Linked DNA regions of Homo sapiens: region 1 is linked to region 2. The links are contacts of gene promoters, found by promoter capture Hi-C in blood cells and fetal thymus (Javierre and others, 2016). All regions are on one chromosome and are shown on one strand. Each heading gives the region's core, a stretch centred on a gene start or on the middle of the fragment in contact. The rest is flanking DNA. Distances are from core to core; before and after follow the strand shown.

Region 1 (7,108 bases), core at 457-2,956, 890 kb after region 2:
ACTACATTCCCTTGGGCTTGGATGCTAATGTCAGCTGGCCATTATTTCTCAGTACCATTTTGACATTTTATCCAGAAATTAATGGAATTTTTCTTGAGATGTCTGCCCTCTAACCTTGAAGAGATTCTGGTGATAAGAGAAGGAAAGCAGTTTAACTGACAAATAGCAATTTAGCAAAACTCAGGGGAGGTGGCTAACAGACAAGTTAGGAACAGACGAGAACAGACTAGAAGGAAACCCCTCAAATGTAGGGGCTTGGCAGGGTGGCAACAAGAAAAATTTTAGGCTTAAATAGAGCACACACACACACCCACCTACACACACACATCTCCTGCTCCACACACACACCTAATGGGAAGGGCCAGGAAAACGCAGTCAGTGGGCACTCCAGGAATGAGGGCAAATTTCCAAGAAGAAATGACTATTCCAGGAATCCCACAGAAGTATTCACTGTGTCATCTTAAAAATGAGTTTATTTTAAAGGAAGTTTATCTGTCAAGTCTGTTTAAATGCCCAGGACTAGAGGAGCTAACTCTTTAAACATCCAGAACGAATTAGTTATTTTCGCTTTTCCCTCCCCTACTAAAAGCTTCTCTTACGTTGCTCTAAAGCAGATGACACAGATGTGGTTCGCATTCCTTCCAATCCCAGTGGAGAAACTGAGGGCTCAAGAGAGGAGCAAGGTGAACATGACCCCCTCTATATTTGTCAGGGGAGGAAGTTTCAGCCCATGGAGGAAAGAGGAGAAGGGCTGTCTTAGTTTAATGGGCTTACTAGTTCCCAAGAAATAAAATCAATGCTGTGCAGAGATGGAAACAGAAACTGTCATGCAGGCCAGGTTCAGGGCAGACTGGCTGGGAAAGATAACTCATCATCTATCCAGACGTTCTTGGTCTCAGGAGAGAGTGGTTAAGGGAACACGGCTCTGCACGCCACCCCTGCCTCCAAATCCCAGTAGAGGGCAAGCCCCAGGCCTAGTCCACTCTGGGGAACCTGCAGTCACCAGGCAGGGAAGAAGTATGTCGCGCCTTTGCAGACACCACAGACCTCATTTTACAAAGAATGGGATTAGACTGTGAGGTCTTTTGTAGGGGAGGAACATGGGAAGGGTCGGCACATTTAAATGATATACCCCGCCCCACCCCCTCCACCTCGAAGCCTGGGAGCTCCATAGATGACAAATCAGAGTCCTAGGCTGGGAGGCCTCATTCCTCTGGAGGACCCTGGGATCGTAAGGCCCAGTGCCGTTCCCTAAACAGCCTCAGTTTTGAGCCTTCATCTTCCTCGTGGAGTAAAGAACTGGCTAGGGTTTACTGGAAGTTAATGTGTATGTCTGTGCTTCTAAGAAAGGTGTTCCGAAGCGGGAGAGAGGGACGGACTCTTACCCACCGGGCATTCTGTGGATACAGGAGAGCCCAGCAGTGCCTCTCTATGGGCTGAAAGGCAGCAAGGAGACCAACTAGAAAGACAGTGAGTCTGTCTCCCCCACCCAGCACTCCTGCCCTGGCCGTGGGGTGACATAGCAAAAAGACCTCACATTAAGGGGACTTCTCACAGGAGGGCTGCTGGGGTCTCCTGCCTGCTGCCTTCAAACAGTGCCAGCCTGTGCCTGTGCGGAGCTACAGCCCAGAACAAAACCAGGAGCGCATCCTGAATGCGGCCAATAAACTATTAGCAGAAAAAGAACAAGGAGCAAACGTGTGAACCTTGATATGCTAGGAAGAGGCCATATTGTATTAGCTTTCCAGTAGCAGTCCCAAAGGCAGGAAAAACTGAAGGATGTATATTTAGATCTCTTGAAATCGGGCTACTTCTACTAGGTATTCTATAGCCAAGCAAACTGTAGGTGTACCTAGCAATATTCTTATTGTCATCAGGATTAACTTGTGATTCAAGATTTTATTTTATTATTATTATTATTATTTTATTTTTTAATTTATTTTTTTGAGACGGAGTCTCACTCTGTCGCCCAGGCTGGAGTGCAGTGGTGCAATCTCGGCTCACTGCAAGCTCCGCCTCCTGGGTTCATGCCATTCTCCTGCCTCAGTCTCCCAAGTAGCTGGGACTACAGGCGCCCGCCACCACGCCCAGCTAATTTTTTGTATTTTTAGTAGAGACGGGGTTTCATCGTATTAGCCAGGATGGTCTCGATCTCCTGACCTCGTGATCCACCCACCTCAGCCTCCCAAAGTGCTGGGATTACAGGCGTGAACCACCACACCTGGCCCCAACTTAAGATTTTAATTGACTCTCTGGAGCAGGCAGGTGTCTTTGATTTGATGGGGCTGTTTAAGTCTGCGTCACTATTGTGCTGCCAGTCGCCCACCCTGGGGAGTGGAACTTGCCTGCAGTAGCACCGTTCTGGTGTTGAAGACAGGAAGCAGGGTGAGGGAACCCTGTGGGTGGAGGGGATTTCCCAGACAAGGATCAGAAAGACAAAGCCCATGATGTCACTGGAATCGATTGTGCTGCTGAGTGGAAGATTTCTATAAACTATAGGTTTGCTCCAACTCTGTGCCTGCCCCCCAACCCCAACACCTAATTACCTGCTTTATCCAGGAGTTTGCACAACATCCACGCAGTCACTGAAGTCAGCTCACTGGGCTTGGCTATCACAGTGTTCCCTGCAGCCATCGCTGGAGCTATCTTCCAGGTCAGCAAGTAGAGTGGCAAATTCCAGGGGCTGATCAGACCAGCTAAGGGATGAGAGCAGAAGCACTGCCTGTGACGGCATACCCCTCTGAGGTGGACTGGCCAAGTGGGGTTATTAACGCAAAACTCCTTCATGCTGCAGAAAACTTAGCTTACTCTTCTAACTTCTTCCCAAGCTTTGCTTATTTGTAGCCACTTTCAGGGAAATAATTCTAAAATATATTCCAAGCAACTGTATCTTTTAAAACAGAGTAAAGTCAATATGATTTCCCCATTTCTTGGCAGTTCATGATTATGAACAACAGCAATATAAACTCCAGAGCTAAAGAGTTGTCACCTATCATATACCCAAAGAAATATAAATCATTCTATTATAAAGATACATGCACGCGTATGTTCATTGCAGCACTTTGCTATTCACAATAGCAATAGCAAAGACATGGAATCAACTCAAATGCTCATCAATAATGGATTGGATAAGAATATGTGGTACATATACACAATGGAATACAATGCAGCCATAAAAAGGAACGAGATCATGTCCTTTGCAGGCACATGGATGAAGGTGGAAGCCATTATCCTTAGCAAAGTAACACAGAAACAGAAAACCAAACACCTGCATGTTCTCACTTATAAGTGGGAGCTGAACAATGAGAACACATGGACACAGGGAAAGGAACAACACACAGCAGGCCCTGTCAGGGGAGAGTCGGGGGGAAGAGCATTAGGATAAAGAGCAAATGCATGCTGGGCTTAATAGCTAGGTGATGGGTTGATAGGTGCAGCAAACCACCATGGCACACGTTTACCTATGTAACAAACCTGCACGTCCTGCACGTGTACCCTGGAACTTCAAAAAAAAATAAAAAATAAAAAAACAGTTGTCACCTGTCACTAAACAGTTCCAGAATGTGACGCATTTTGAGATTTATAGACTGAGCTTTACTTTTTCAAAAATGTCTCCTTCCCCATTATTTTAACGGTCTGGCTGTTATTTCTTCTAACATGTTTCTTTACCTTTACTTCAAATCTGTCATGGGTTGAGACATAAAATCTCAAGCTTTATATAATTATTCATAAAATAGGGGCCAATGAGTTCTGAGTGTTCCATGTGAGGGCCCTCCTATCAGTAAAGCCAATAACCTTTGGTGCATGGACTGTGACATCCATTTTGGCTATTTAGAATATTTTTAAATAAAAATTCTCTCTAGATTGTCACTTGTATCCTGACCAGATAGATTTGCTGGATGAGTAACGTAACCAGCAGCTAGAATGTGTCTCCATGCAATATTCTGAACCTATCCAGGTTTCCAATCACAAAACAAACAAATATAAAAATCTACCTTCTGAAAGGAAATTGATTCACCTTATTTTATACTCTTCCCTCAAGCCTGTGCTATGAAAGTAAATGCATCTTTTATATTATTAAATTTCCCACTGAAAAATCCATTCTTTAGGGGATAAAAATATTTTTGCAGCAAAATATATTAGCACACTTCCTAGGAGGAGGTAGAGCTTTCCACAATGCCTTGAAAACATAATTTCTGAAGGTTTCAAGTAACCAAAGCAATGAGATGTCCCAATTGTTTTCCTTTTAGCTTATATTCATAAAATGTAATAAGCTAAAAAGATGATTTTTTTCTCCGAGGAAACAGTGACATCTGGTGGAAGGTTTTAGTCATCACAGACATTTATTTATACGTTCTTCCAAAGGTCAAGAGGCAAAGGAATGCATGAAGTAAGATAATTCTCAGTAGAGGCTTATTTATCACACACCTGGCACCATACTACATGCCCTACACTTATTAATTTATTTAATGTACATAAATAGTTCTTTCTTTTTTTTTTCTTTTGAGACAGAGTCTCGATCTATCACCCAGGCTGGAGTGCAGTGGCACCATCTCAGCTCACTGCAACCTCCGACTCCCAGGTTCAAGTGATTCTCCTGCCTCAGCCTCCCAAGTAGCTGGGACTACAGATGCATGCCACCACGCCCGGCTGGGTTTTTTTGTTTTGTTTTGTTTTGTTTTTTTGAGACCGAGTCTCACTCTTGTCGCCCAGGCTGGAGTGCAATGGCACAATCTCAGCTCACTGCAACCTCGGCCTCCTGGGTTCAAGCAATTCTCCCTGCCTCAGCCTCCCAAGTAGCTGGGATTACAAGTGCCCGCCACCACATCCAGCTAACTTTTTGTATTTTTAGTAGAGATGGGGTTTCGCCATGTTGGCCAGGCTGGTCTCGAACTCCTGACCTCAGGCGATCCGCCAATCTTGGCCTCCCAAAGTGCTGGTATTACAGGCATGAGCCACCGCGCCCGGTGAATTTTTGTATTTTTAGTAGAGACGGGGTTTCACCATGGTGGCCAGGCTGATCGAATTCCTGACCTCAGATGATCCTTCTGCCTCAGCCTCTCAAAGTGCTGGGATTACAGGCGTGAGCCACTGCGCCCAGCCTGATTTTTCCTTTTTTAAATATAAGTAGAAAAAAAAATCCTGGCATGTGAATTTACATATTTACTCTTAGCATCATTCTTTTCCCTATGATTTTCCAGATAAGTCATGAACATGAGGCCTGGCGTGGTGGCTCACGCCTGTAATCCCAGCACTTGGGGAGGCCGAGGCGGGAGGATAACTTGAGGTCAGGAGTTTGAGATCAGCCTGGCCAACATGGGTGAAACCCTGTTTCTACTAAAAACACAAAAATTAGCCGGTGTGGTAGCTCGCACCTGTGGTCCCAGGTACTCAGGAGGCTGAGACTAGAGAATCACTAGAATCCGGGAAGCAGAGGTTGCAGTGAGCCGAGATCATGCCACTGCACTCCAGCCTGGGCGACAGAGCAAGACGCTGTCTAAAAAGAAAAGCAGGGAATTTGACACAAAGAAAATAAACTAGAAATAGATCTTTGAGGCCAATGGATTTTAGAAAAGAAAAATATCAGCTCTTCCTTTTCTTTAACCTGTTCCTTGAGGACAATGCCATAGAATGTTGTGAGCATCTGCAAGCATAACCGGGAGGTGGGCTCTCACTGAACAGCACTCACCGACTCCCACCGGGGCCCGCACCGTGTAGTGCATGCAGCCCAGGTGGTCCATCTGCGTGCACTCTGACGTGTGGTGCAGGCTGGAGGAAGCGAAGAACCTGAAGTTCTGCACAGACCGGGGAATGTCCATGGTTCTTGCCAGTGCTAAGGTTTTCCCTGTAAGAAGCAAACAACATAAAGCACTATCAGCTAATGGGGACACTCTATCCATCAGCTTCCACTGCCCACGCGTCCCAACTCACACTGAAACAGCCTGGATTCCTTCTAGCCCGGGGCAGGCATTCCTTGACCTCACAAAGACTTGATCATGGTTTGATAAAACCATACAATATTTAGGTATAAGGTTGGAAACTGAGGTGGGGGGTTAAAATTGAGTCAATAATCTTTGTTCTGTGAACTGAACACATCATTCTCATCACCAGTTTGCCAGATGCTACCACTTCACCCACACAAACTCTTGCAATTCAAAATCACCAGGCTTTGTACCTGCGACAAAGGCATTGAAATACGGGTGTTAGGACAGTTGTAATTGCACAGCACAAAACGAAACACTTTTATACACATGTAATGTGTATTTCATGACCTCCCCACACATGGTAGAGTCATCAGAAGAGCGGCTGGGAATGCCCTGGCACGGGATGCTGTGTGGCACCTGCTTGCCCATCACATGCCCTGCACGTCCTAGCTCCTGGATGGAACAGAAAGAGAAACAGAAGCTTACCTAGACTGCTACTGAGTTCTCTTTAGCGATGCAGGGAGCCTGGCCAGGAACACCAGCAGAGAACTATTTTCTTTTTAAGGGCTTGGACTCAGGCTGCTTTCTGATTTTTGATTGGTTTATGGCACACATGTAATTTTTAAAACTCTTGGCTTATCTTAACAGATATTCTTGCAAAAATTTACAAATATTTACTCCATTACTCTGACCTCTGGGAAAGAGTGGGAAAAAAAAATGAGATGTGTCGGGAGTGGAATGGTGACTGACATATCAGAAAACATCCTAAATAATCTGACTGCATAACTGCTTTTCAAATTATCTTTGCTTTGAAATTCTCTGCTTAGAATGAGTAGGAGACTGCATGATCAGCCCTAGTTCTTCATCTCTCCCTATATCCATGCCCTTTGCTGTATATATTTGCACTTCCTTTCATCCAATGAACAGAGTATATTTCTTTGCCCCTCAGCTTTTGGATCCAGCCATGTGACTTTCTCTGGCCATCTGAATGAGACAGGGCTGGGCCAGCCACAAGTCCTGGCCTTCCCAGGCCTGGAGCAGGGGAGGGTTTGCTCTCCACTTCTACTATTGCCAGAGGAGCAGGCACATGGGCTGGCCTGATGGCCCCAAGAGGGATAACATGAATAATCAGAGATGCCCTGAGTCCCATGTTACAGTTAAGAGGCAACTCTCACCTTGGTCTT
Region 2 (6,524 bases), core at 3,894-6,393:
AGTTGGTGGATTCATCTTTTATCTACACATGCAAATCTCAGCTTCCTTCGGCTGCTCCAAGGTAGATTCAGTGTATTTTGAGTTCTGTCTCTACCAACTAGTGTAAGCTCTAGACCACTAAAGACCACCCTCTTGAGAATTCACAGGAAAGATACCCTGTGGGCTCATATTCAGGTCCTATCAGCTACCACCAGGCCTATTCCTGGGCTCTCAGCTGCTTCAGCAACTGTTGGTAATCTGACAGAGAGAACGGTGATGTTGAGAATATTTAACAACTAGGACAGAGGCACCGACCTATCAGAATGGCTGTAAAAACTGGTTCAGGCATGCTGGTGTGCACCAGCTAATCTCAGCCTGCTCAGATGGGCCCAACCTCTTGGCCGGCTGCTCTCAGGCTGGCTTGGTCTGGCTCTGCCAGGCCCTGGCAGGGCAGGCTTCCTGCAGCGTGTGTCTGCTGCTGCTTCAGAGCCTGGGAGGGGGTCTGTGGCAACCTCTCTGCTCTCTCTGGGTGACACATCCTTAGAGAGGAGCAAGACCACTGCCGCGTACGATGCATAGCACCCAGAGTTTGCAGAGAAACATCTCCCACCATGTTCGCAGCCTTTTCCCTTCCCAAGAGATCCCAGAGGAGCCATTTGCCCAGTGCTCACAGTGGTGAAAAGCCTCAAATCTAGACTTTTGATGTGATTTCCAAGTGAGGTTAAATGTACAGTCACAGAGATACGCTGACTGGACTGAAAGGGGAGATATTTATGTTTAAATCTGGTCTCATGACCACACAGAAGAGCAAGTGGTCCTCCATAAATGAACACGTCTAAAAATCCTGTCATTTCCAGCCAGGCACTGTGGATCACACCCGTAATCCCAGCAGTTTGGGAGGCCAAGGTAGGCGGATCACCTGAGGTTAGGAGTTGGAGACCAGCCTGGCCAGCATGGTAAAACCCCATCTCTACTAAAAATACAAAAATTAGCCAGCTGCTCAGGATGCTGAGGCACAAAAATCACTTGAAACTGGGAGGCAGAGGTTGCAGTGAGCCAAGATCGCGCCATCTTACTCCAGCCTAGGTGACAGAGCGAGACTTCATCTCAGAAAAAACAAAACAACAACAACAAAAAAACCTGTTATTTCCTTGGAAATACGTATCACAGTAGACACAATCATTGTTATCAGATGTTGACTTGTTAAATACATATGTTTTTAAAGCACTATAATTTTTGTCACGGGTTTTGATGCTTAATTGTTTTTAATATATAGAAAGTGTGGAAAAATGGGAATGGCCCAGCATCAAAAACTCTGAGATGCCTGGGTCTGCCCAAGGTAACTGGCCTCTTACTAGAATCTGTCTTCTCACAACCAAAGCTCTGACATCTGCCCAAGCTGGTTGGCCTGACTCCCTCTTCCCTAAGGATGAGTTTGTTTCCAAGTCTCCGTCTCTTTTACAAGTTGACTTCCCCTAGAGCTGACTGACGAAGCCTGAGAAAGCCAGGCCTGACGAAATTCCAGGGGGCCCATTTTAAGCTAAACCCGGGAGAACAGCACTCAGTAGGAACTTAGTTACAGTTACATCTTACATACTCACCACCTGCCCAGCTTCCATTTAGGAAAAAGGAGTTCACAGCTTTAAAAGCGTTTTGAGAACAACTGCCTTAGAATGTTCATCTGCTGAGCAGAAGCGTGTATTTCTTAAATTCCAGACTGTGGCATCTTCAGAGGGGATAAAGGACAGTCCTTTCAGCTGAGTTCGTGAGTCCCGTTCTTCATGTTCTGGGTCCCAGTGCCAGAGAGTTCTGCAGTGCTGACAACCTGCACTCATACAGTAAATATTGTTCTTGTTTTCTGAACCTTTGGACAGTTGGGGGTGAAGGGAAACTTAAGAGGACTCTGTCCCCAGCCAATTGTTTGGATCATGAAATAAAGGAAGCCTGGGAGCTGAAGTAGAAGTCAGTATTGAATCTCCTGGGCCAGAGGCCACCAGGGTCAGTTCTGCACCATCCTCTGTGTGACCGTGGGCCGATCACACATCTTTTGACCTCAGATTTCCCTTGTGTGAGTTGCTCCATCCGTCTAATATCTCACTTCATTTATATCTGTTGTCAACTCTAGGCACCAGAATTTCAAACTGAGCTTAATCCTGTCCTATATTAAGATGGATTGGAACATGTCCATGAAAGCTGAAAAAATTTACTAAAAATGTAACCACTTTGAGTCATAGCTTATTGAAAATGAATTAAGTTCATTAGCTTCTAGTCATTGGAACAAAGCATTCTTTTCAGTTAAAGAGGGTTAGTCAAGAAAGACCTACCAAAATTTTTCACTGTGCACAATAGCATCAAGGGAGTTCAACTGCAGACCTTAGGGGGTTGGTTTTGTTTTGTTTTTCAGTATCTCACATGATTTAATTACCTTGTCCTGAGTTATATAACTCATTCCTCTTTGTGCTTTGATTTTTCCATCTAGGAATGTAGAAAAGCTTGCTACCTTCAAATGCAGACATATTGTGATAATTGTTGAGCATAATTTAAATACTCTGAATGTCTTAAATGAAAACTATGGAAGTTGAAAATATGAAGAAGCCAAAAGGAGTATTTGACAAATATTACCTCATTAAATCTCAACACCTTCATAAAATAGATGAAGATACAATCCCAATATTAATGAATGGAGACTTTAAGTAACTTAAGAAAACCATACAGCAAGTCTGCACTATGCATTCATTTATACATATGTATGTATAATTGCTTTTGGGTGCCAAAAGATGTTTAAGATAAGTTAAGAAAATTTACAAAAGTAGAAAATAAAAGGTTTGCATTCATCTAAATGCAGATTATGTATAGCACAAATCAAAGTTGTATTCATCTGACATTTTAAGGAAACATTCAGGCTTTCTCTTCTACAAAATGAAAGTTAATTTAAAATTAAATTTGAAAGATAATTTATGGTACTTATTCATTTATTATTTCTTTACAACATAAACAGTTGCACTTTAAGTTGAATTTTGTGCATGTAACCAACTATTGCAAATGTAAATACACATTATCTTTCTTCTGGATAATTGTGAATTTGTACAATATAAGCTATTAAGAGCACATTGTACCTTCAAAGCCATATCAAAATAAACAGTCCATTTTTAATGGTTACTACAAAGGCTCTTCCTAGGCAGTTTCTTTTCATCTTCTTTGTGACATTATCACTGACTGTATTTAGTGAGCCCTTTTGTTAACATCACCACCTCAGCTTGCTCTGCAGTCTAGACTGCAGCTCATGTTCCCAGGAATTTGGAGAAAAGAACTTTGCAACTCTTTCCCTTTATCTCCAAATATAAGTTTCCCTTGCCTGCTCTTAGGGAACTTGTGGGCCAATGAGTAGCAAGCGCTTAGGGAAAAGGGTACTTCTGCATAGGAGAGGACAGGCCATATTGAAAGATGACCCCAGATATTCTTTTATTATTATTATTATTATTATGTTAGACAGAGTTTCACTCTGTCACCCAGGCTGGAGTGCAGTGTCATGATCTCAGCTCACTGTAACCTCCAAGTGATTCTTGTACCTCAGCCTCCTGAGTAGCTGAGATTACAGGCATGTGCCACTATGCTCAGCTAATTTTTTTATTTTTCTGTATTTTTAGTAGAGATAGGGTTTCCGCTCTGTTGGCCAGGCTTGTCTTGAACTCCTGGCCTCAAGTGATCTGCCCACCTTGGCCTCCCAAAGTGCTGAGATTACAGGCATGAGCCACCACGCCCGGCCTCATTCTTGACGAGAAGTGTGAAAGCAAGAGAAGAGATCAGGACATGGAAGATGGAGGGCTTCTCCACTCCTGAAGAGGGCCGCTTCATGCCTCGATGTTAGGGGTCACAGGTTCGATTCCCCAAGATCAGACAAACCCACAAGGCAAACGTCAGTATTAGGACCATTCCCAAGAGAAAGGCAGATGTCTTTTGTATCATTTAGTGTATTGGATTTTGCATGAAATTTCTATATGCTGCTTGGGAATGTAATATCTGATTAAGAATACACAGCTGAGGAAAGTAGTAGGAAAGAGAAGATTTTTTGTGTTTGTTGTCATTTCATATTACAATTACTTTCTATTCCTTGCAGCACAAACTAAATGAGCAGGAAGAGGCAGCAAAAAGCGTACAATGTATTTGTGGGAATTGTAAATGTGGAAGTGAAGACCAGCCTCTGATTTATCAAAGATCATTAAATGAATTAAAACTTTTCCAAATTTCACCTTCAGAAGGTCATCATAGCAAACAAACCTCAGTTTGCAAGGCCAGTTTTAAAGAAGGCAGAACCCAGCAAAGCAAGCGTTTCAGGCTCTGAATAACGCTCAAATTCATCACAAACGTGCTGGGAATTTAAAAAGGAAGTTTGTGTTCTCATTGATTACATAACTAATAATTTTATGAAGCCTGTTTAAAATACTGATTTTTAAAACAGTGGTTATAATGTCAACTGGTTACACAGTGTCCATTTGTGACAATAAATGAAAAAGTGTAAGCAAGCGTGTGCTTGTGTGTGTTTACAAATGAGACTATCTTTGCCAGTGGACCGTTCCAATATGAAAAACATCCATACATTGTATTATGTAAACACAATCAAGGGGACCCATCATACCAGTGGTGGATGTGTAACCTGTATTTTCTTGGCACATAAGGTTCCACCAAGACTTCGATCTTCACAACATTACAGCTCCGAGCTGTCCCACGTCCCACCAGACCCTGTCCCCTTCTCTCCACTCATCCAGCGCGCCCACATGCGCGCGCGCGCATACACACACACACACACACACACACACACACACACACACACACACACGGGACTCAAGAGACAGTACACTCGGGAGATGAGTACAGCTTGCTTCTCTGCGGTCACCCGAGCACTGCAGGCTCACTTTACCTCTCGCCCAGGGAGGATGCCGGCTGCCGCTGCCCTCCGTCTCCACGGCTGTCCCCTTCTGGTTCAGCAGACTGGGGCCCTCGGTGTTTTCAACAGGTACCATGGTCACGTAGAAGTTACAGCCGCTTCCCCGCCACCAAACCGCCCCGACCACCCCCGCTCCCAGGAGTGGTCACTTTCCCCATAATAGCATGCTAAAGAAGAGTGTGGGGAAAAACTTCGGGCAAAGCTAATGTGATTTGTGACCAACTTTGTTTCTATTTCCGAAGGCTTTGCCCTTTTCGGTGACACAGGCTGTTGCTATTCCAAGCAGCCTATCACAGGCAGGGGGAGGGCCGTGAGTCAGAGGATTGTTTTTGCCTTTAGATGCAGAGTTGGAAGCAAGGGGTTAAAAGAAAGGGAACTCAGACGGAGTGTTTGGCCATTAGCTAAGGGTAGCTCTTGTATTCTAGCACCTTTGAAAAGAGGCAGAGAAAGGAAACATGCAGATTTAAATGCAAGCTGAGAGTGGGGATAGAATACTCACAGATGGTATCAGTTAATCTTGCAGAAAGAGGAACAATTTATGCAAAGACATACCAGAAGGAAAAGTGTGTCAATTTTTCAGCAAGACTGTTATTCCAAAAGTCATGGTATTTACCAGCTTACACAAAGCATAAAATACCTTTATTGTTTCAACCTGATTTTGGTCTAGGTAAAGGCCTATATCTTTCTCTCCAAGGCCTTTCAGATAAATCACAGCCTGAGACCAAAAATACACAAACTCAGAATGCACAGATTCTTTAGACTTTTTATATGCTGAGGTTATAGCAAAGTAATCCATTTCTTAATGCAGAATTGTCTTTAAGAGACAAATTAACACTGAATCCTCTGTTAGGTTTCATGTTTGCGTAGGTAGGAGGAGGATACTCCTCACTCAGAGAGGCCAGACTAAGTGGCCCATTGTGTGCGTGTGGTGGACATGTAATCTCAAACAAAATCAGGTCATGAGAGAGGATCTTTTTCTGATTTGTGAACATATTTATAAAAAAGTCTTACAGGGTTATGACATTTTACCTTCAGTTATTCATTCAACAAATCATGTTTATTAAAAAAAAAAGCCTTATAGAGGAAATTGAGATCATCTTAAAAATCATTTGGAATAAAAACTAACATGTGTGGAGCACTTATGTGCCAGAAATTGTGCTAAGCGCAATAACGCAGATGATGACTTTGAGGCAGGTACCAACATTATAGAAGAGGAAATGGAGGTTGGGTAACTTGGCTACAGTCTCACAGCTAATCAGTGGTAGAGCTGAGATTATGAATCCAGGAGGTCTAAAGCTGTAACTCTCCTATATTCTAACTTCCCAGCCTTGTCCTTCTCTAATTTTCTTGGCTTCCTATGGTTTCAGACCTACTCGACTTTAAGAAGATGCCGTGAAATATGGCTTTTAGTCATAGGCATTTCTCTGGACAGAAAAACAAATTTGTGCTTGTATAAGCAGAAGCTAAATTTTTGTTACTTCTTTTCAACATTTTAACTGAATCACTTCAAAGTTCTAAATTCACTTATTTGTACATTTCCTTTGCTTGTCATTAAATAATTCTATATTTTTCTTATCTTTCAGGGAAACAGGTAGCAAAT

The links. The method cuts DNA at HindIII sites, captures the fragments that hold promoters and counts their contacts. A CHiCAGO score of 5 or more calls a contact.
Region 1: a fragment that was not itself captured here is called in contact with the fragment with the promoter of SLC2A12 in region 2 in 5 of 17 cell types (M1 macrophages, M0 macrophages, non-activated CD4 T cells and 2 more); the score reaches 7.5 in M1 macrophages.

The regions. Positions count from the first base shown.
Region 1 is chr6:134,936,720-134,943,827 of GRCh38, forward strand. It overlaps ALDH8A1 (aldehyde dehydrogenase 8 family member A1), which reads right to left. Exons shown (of 7, transcript NM_022568.4): 2 at 7,100-7,108; 3 at 5,690-5,845; 4 at 2,547-2,696. Among named protein-coding and RNA genes, the nearest start is that of ALDH8A1, 9.8 kb to the right of the region's middle. The HindIII fragment of the contact is 2,239 bases long and covers 588-2,826 here.
Region 2 is chr6:134,047,481-134,054,004 of GRCh38, forward strand. SLC2A12 (solute carrier family 2 member 12) reads right to left here and starts at 5,144. Exons shown (of 5, transcript NM_145176.3): 1 at 4,898-5,144. The coding sequence starts at 5,000. The HindIII fragment of the contact is 5,616 bases long and covers 2,470-6,524 here.